Linked DNA regions of Homo sapiens: region 1 is linked to region 2. The links are contacts of gene promoters, found by promoter capture Hi-C in blood cells and fetal thymus (Javierre and others, 2016). All regions are on one chromosome and are shown on one strand. Each heading gives the region's core, a stretch centred on a gene start or on the middle of the fragment in contact. The rest is flanking DNA. Distances are from core to core; before and after follow the strand shown. Region 1 holds the start of STOML3 (stomatin like 3). Region 2 holds the start of LHFPL6 (LHFPL tetraspan subfamily member 6).

Evidence for each region. Contacts are between HindIII fragments. The CHiCAGO score rates a contact against its expected background, and 5 or more counts as called.
Region 1: the fragment with the promoter of STOML3 here is called in contact with the fragment with the promoter of LHFPL6 in region 2 in 2 of 17 cell types (activated CD4 T cells and non-activated CD4 T cells); the score reaches 5.7 in activated CD4 T cells.

Annotation. Positions count from the first base shown.
Region 1 is chr13:38,989,213-38,992,310 of GRCh38, forward strand. STOML3 (stomatin like 3) reads right to left here and starts at 1,619. Exons shown (of 7, transcript NM_145286.3): 1 at 1,458-1,619. The coding sequence starts at 1,509. The HindIII fragment of the contact is 645 bases long and covers 1,523-2,167 here.
Region 2 is chr13:39,601,405-39,604,495 of GRCh38, forward strand. It overlaps LHFPL6 (LHFPL tetraspan subfamily member 6), which reads right to left and starts at 1,789. Exons shown (of 4, transcript NM_005780.3): 1 at 1,479-1,789. It overlaps LOC112268119 (protein SPT2 homolog), which reads left to right. Exons shown (of 4, transcript XM_035861111.2): 2 at 1,046-1,136; 3 at 1,240-2,238. RefSeq lists a silencer at 1,684-1,983. The HindIII fragment of the contact is 2,884 bases long and covers 165-3,048 here.

The DNA.
Region 1 (3,098 bases), core at 369-2,868, 610 kb before region 2:
TTTTTCATATTCAAATATCGAAACCAAGAAAACTCATGAGTACTTTCAAGAATCTCACTGATGATACAGCTTCAGTCATGCCATCTACCCAGTTGATGTCTTCACCTGTTAAAATGGAAACTAAATGTCTCATGAAGGATAAATAAGGGGACTCTTGAGATCTCCCGCTTGCATTTCCAGATGATATTTACTGCCTTCAAGCTTTTCATGCCTACTTCAAAAGAAAAGTTTCTTTTCCAATTCAGGTAAATGTCTCTAAATGTATACTTTTTCTTTTTTCTTTCTTTATTCCATTTTTTTTTCTTTGTTAGGCAGGGTCTCACTCTGTCACCCAGGCTGGAGTACAGTGGTGCAATCTCAGCTCACTGAAGCCTAAACCTCCTGGGCTCAAGCAATCCTCCCACCTCAACCTCCCACTTAGCCACAGGCATGTGCCACCACACCTGGCTAAATTTTGTATTTTTTGTAGAGATGAGTTTTTGCCATTTTGCCCAGGCTGGTCTCGAACTCCTGAGCTCAAGTGATCTGCCTGCCTTGGCCTTCCAAAGTGCTGCGATTACAGGGCATGCACCAGTGCATGCAGCCTAGTTTTTTCTTTTATGTATTAGTAATGCCAAACGTGTTCTCTATTTCTAACATGTACTATGGCTTTTTTGGCAACATAAGGTACAGAGCACAGGTTAGGTCATACACACACGCACACTCACACCATCATCACACACACACACACGCACACCATCATCATAATCACTTTCTGAACAACTTTTTAAACTTTCCAATGCTCAGTTTTCTCATTTGTAAAATGAGATTCTAAGAGGATCTACCTCAGAATTATTGTAAAATTGAAAGAGATAATGCAAGCAAAATGCTTTGTAACACATAATAGTCATTAGTATTAATGATAGTAGTTGGTACTTATAAGCTAAGTTTTTTTTCTCAACTTCTCTCCATTTATCAAACAGGATACAGCTCAAACCAACTTTTCTTTTTAATCTCAGCATCATCAGAAAATGTTTGAAGTTGGAGAAAAGTCAGCCTCTTCAACATATCTTTGTTATTTAATACAAAAAGAAGAAATACAAAGATAAACACCAATTCTATCTAAAATTGAATGAAAAATAAAGCAAGTTATAGACTGCTGTTCAAGAAGCAAATGAAATCAGCATAAGCAATGAATTCAAAATCCTGAGAAGGATTTCATACAGAAAGAAGAAATTCAAAGATAAACACCAACTTTATCTAAAATTGAAGGAAAAATAAAGCAAGTTATAGACTGCCGTTCAAGAAGCAAATGAAATCAGCATAAGCAATGAATTCAAAATCCTGGGCTATAAATGAAATTGAGGCCGATTTCTGCAAATATATCTCATACTTACTCTATACCTGTCTATAATGCTACAACTCCTGCTTTGCCATATATGTAAAAAACAAGCCTAAGACAGGAAAAAGGAACTTACCCACGAAATTCTCTTTATCTTGCTTCTCAGGTGAAGACACCCTAGAATCCATCTCATTCTTGAGAAGCTTTTATACTTGGCAATTTTTCATGGGTTTGGAGCTAAGTGTGAAGAACAGGCAGCAACTCAGATGTGCTTGGGAGAGGGGAGAGGAGAAAGTATGAGAGAGTGAAAGACATTCCTTCTCTTTAGTGAACTCCCTAAGGGGTAGTTACCCTGGTGAGGGAAGCCTGATAACATAAACAAAAAGATTTCTTTTATGAGTTCAGACTGCCTTTGTTCACAGAAAAAACTTGAAAGAATATGACCATCTGGTGGTATTGCTTCCTGTAAAATATTGCTGTGTAATTTTCTATAGCATTTATATTTCATAAAACACTTCTATGCACCTTGTATAAATCTTGTGTGATCACTGATTACACAATGACCTGTTCAATACACAGGGCAAGTGTATCCATCCTTATGTTTCAGATGAGAAAATTTAACCCAACTCATTCTAACACTGCAGTGAGTGAGCTTTTGAAACTCAAATCTGATCATGTCTTCATCCTGCTTAAAATAATCAAAAAATTGCCAACTGTCAATATTGTAAAGACCAAACTCCTAAGTGTCCTACAAGACCCTGCTGGCCTGCCCCTTCCTCCCTTTCCAGCCTCACTCATGTGTCTCTCCGTGAAGCAGCTCCATTGGTCTCCTATCAGTGCCTCCAAAGCTTGATATGTCTTCTCGCCACCGGATCTTTGCACGTGTTATCATATGCATAATTTTTTGGCTTGTGTCTGTTTCTTCTTCTAGACCAAGAATTGACAAACTTTAGCTTGCCAGCTAAATTTAATTTACCACTTGTTTTTAAAACATAAAGTGTTATTGGAACACAGTATGTCCTTTTGTTGCTTTCTTTTTTTTTTTTTTTTTTTTGAGATAGGATTTCACTCTGTTGCCCAGGCTGGAGTGCAGTGGCACAATCACAGCTCACTGCAATCTCGACCTGCCAGGCTCAAGCAATCTTCCTACCTCAGCCTCTTCAACAGCTGGGACTCCAGGTGCACACCACCATACCTGGCTAATTTTTAATTTTTTTTTTTTTTAGAGATGGGGCCTCACTATATTGCCCAGGCTGGTCTCAAACTCTGGGCTCAAATGATCCTTCAGCCTTGGTCTCCCAAACTGCTGGGATTGTAGATATGAGCCACCATGCCCAGCTCTTTCATTTTTGTATTGTCTGTGCTCACTTTTGCACTGCACCCGTGGATTTGAGTAGTTGTGACACAGACCATACAAGCTGTAAGGCCTAAAATATTTACTGTTTGTCCCTTCACAAAAAAAGTTTGCTGACCCCTGCCTTGCACTATACATTTCCATGAGGAGAGTGACTTGGTCTAACATTTCCATTGCATCTGCAACAATTAGAACAACGTGGGCACATGATTGATGTTCAACAATACTTGCTGAATGAATGAATATATAAATCACAAATGAAAACAGCTCTCAAATGGCAAAGCTCTTTCTCAAATCCAGATCCTTAGGATCCTGTACTAGGATTCCTTCTTTCATCAGACCACATAGAACCACAGACAATTTTGTGGTTATTCCAATACTAAGAACACCAATTTTCTAATTTTCTGATGTTCATTTCTCTCA
Region 2 (3,091 bases), core at 539-3,038:
GGAAACATTAAAAATTAAAGGCATTAAAAGAAGTGATAACACTGTTTCAGCTAGTCTACAATTTTCAATTAATAAACATTGAGACTTGCCTCAACACTTTAAAAGTGGGAAGAACTAATTCTCTCTATGAGCTTCATAACTCGATTTTTGTCAAACCAGCTCAAAGCTTTTTCATGTCTTTATCTTCCGTAAATATTTCCAAATTAACTCTGACAGCTATTTACTTAAAGAAACGCCCGATTTTTATTTGACAGGCCAATGAATTCATTCTATATATTATATACTCACATTAAAAGTAATGTAGCACTTTCACTGGGCAATAAACAATTAAAATAAAATGAACCATGCCATGATTTCCATTTTTTGGCTTGCAAGTTCATGCTCATAGTTTGTTGCAACTTTTCTATGTCCCTTTAAGGGTGCATTAACTCTCTGCATGAGCCAAACAAACTAATTAGGATAATTTTTCACAATTGCAGAGTACCATAAATTTAACAAGCATTATGGTCTGCGGAGGCACCCACAGTACAGAACTATTACCAGACACTCTTTGTACTCATTCAGCAGCATTTCAGAATTTCTTTAGTCTTAACATCTTCTAGTGTAAAAGAATGCCTGTGTATGACTTATTTTGAGTCTGCAGTTTTGATTCATTGATTCCAACAGTTCTATTGCAATCATTTCTCCCACTGAATGATTGTCTAATTTGAACAGCAATCCATACTTCCCAGTATGCTACATCAAACCCCAGTCATCCAAATGGTTCCAGGGGCATCTACTTCCACCCCAGCCTTTCAAAAAGAGTTCCTTAACCATTTCTCACACTTTCCATAAAGAAATGAATACAGAAGCACAGAGCCCATCCACCCTAGAATTCCACCCCCAGGACCCCTAACTCCAGCTTTCAGGGTCCATAGCAAATTTCCCCCTTTCTTCACCTCGCCCCTACCCGTTTTTTTCTCTAACCACCGCCCATTTTCAGTTCTGGATGTCACTCAAACGGGAGGTCGGCTACTACTTTTTTTTCTAATCTTGTCAACTGCAGTCAGGGCTGAAGTTGATCTATCTGGGCCACGAGGCTGGGGAAGACCAGCAGGGGGTGGCCTGCGGGCAGGGGGCCCCCATCTCCAACTGCGGTGAGGCGCCCTCGCCAAGACAAGCCCATATTTAGCCCCCTGCCATTGCCTCACCGAGCCACTCCACCCATGGAGACACACAATGATCCCTCCATTCTAAAAGGGGGCAAGAGGCATTTTCCAGCCGGCTCTGGACGAAGGGAGGGGATAAGGATGGGAAGGCAGCACCCCCCGGAGGCAGACGCCAAGAGCGGACGCGGCTGGCAGGCAGAGCCGACGGATCCGCCGAGCTCAGGAAGTCCGGAGCCCGGGAGCAGCCCAACTCCGGCTCCGGGGCAGAGAGGGAGCCCGGGAGAAAGCAGCGGAGCCCACGCCCACGGGGCAGCCGAGTGATTTACTTACATGGCTGGCGGGCGGCGGCCACCTTCCCTCCCGCGTCCCGGGCGCACACACAACTTGCTGTCTTTCTCGGGCGGGAACATCCACGGGAAACCGGACCGTCCTGCCCTTCTTTGCCTCTGTCCCTAACAGCCGCAGAACCCCGGGGCCCGACCTGGAAGAGCAGGGGTTGGCAGGAGGCGGAGGGTCTCCAGAAGCGGGCTGGCACCAGCGGAGACCCCCACTCCCGGCGAGTCCGCGGCGGCAGCTCTGGCGGAGCGCTGTGGGCGCGCGCGGGCGCCGGGGATCGCACGCAGAGGAGCGGATCTCCCTTTGGCAGGCGAGGCACGCACCGCCTCCTCCCCTCCGCTGCCCGGCCCTCCTCTTTCTCCAGTCCCCTCCCCTCGCGCCCCGGGGAACTCCGCGCAGACAGACCCAGGACGCACCGGGGACGTTCCTGGAGCGCCGGGAAGGGAGTGGGGGGGTGCCCCGCTGTCCGCGCGGGTCCAGGCCCACCCCCGGGGGCAGCTTTCGCGGCTCCTCCCCTAGCCCCGAGCCCCCTCGCGCCCCCTCTCCCTGCGTCTCATTCAAAGCTGAGTGGGGAAGGCAGACAGACCGAGAAGTATGGGAGAAAGTTGCTTGTCTTCCTGGGTGACCCCGAGGAGCCACGGAAGATGACACACTTTGCCTGTTGGGGCTTTTCTGGGTTTACTGTTCGGGTTTATGCTCCTGTTTTCCTGCCGCCGTTAAAAGAAGCCGTAGACGGGAAAGAGGGCCTTAAAGAGTGGGTAAAGTGGCCCCTTTGAGATTTGAGGAGGCTTTTGAGAAGTGGTCACTTTGGAAGGCGGTGAATGAGGCGGTTGTGGACGTGGGAATTAAAGCACAGCAGACAGCCCAAGGCTCATGTATGGCATGGGGGCAGCTGCCTTTCCAGACGAGCCAGGGAGAAGGCAGGGGCGGACCTCTAGCGAGCCTCTCCCAAGAGATACACTCTTTCAAAGGTCTCTCTCTCTCTCTCTTGCTGTTTCTCTGTCTCTCTCTCCCTCCCTCCCTCCCTTTCCCTTCACTTCCTCCCTCCCTTCTCCTCCATCCTGCCTCCTGATCAATTTTGCAATTTATTCCATCGTTTGATTTCTTTTCTGAGAAACAACTGATTTTTAGTTCCCCTCTGGACTTGAGGACTTTTTCCACTTGTCATTAGCACTAACCCCTTTAGAAGTTTAGAGCTAGATTCAGTAGATGACTGTGGGAGTCTCTGCTGAACACAGTATTTTAAGAAGTATGCCATCTGGGAACAGCAGTTTTTGAAGTAGACAGTTTCCCAGATATAGTTTTTGTGAGGTGTCTTTTTAGAGGAGTTGAAAGTAATAAATTGGTAGGTATATATTTCATAGCAGATTTTCAGACTGCACCATTTTAATTAGCCGTGATGGTGTACATTTTTCCCACAACGACAGCTGGAGATATGTGTTCTTTTATTATTATTTTGAAAGACCTTAAGTGATTGATTCCAAGCCTTTTGAGGTCACAGGTCTTTTAAAAAATACGATGAAACTGATAAGCCTTCCAGAAAAAAAAATGCGCGGACATATAAAGCTTTACCACAGCGATTCTGAAGAAGGAAAGGGATATTTGGC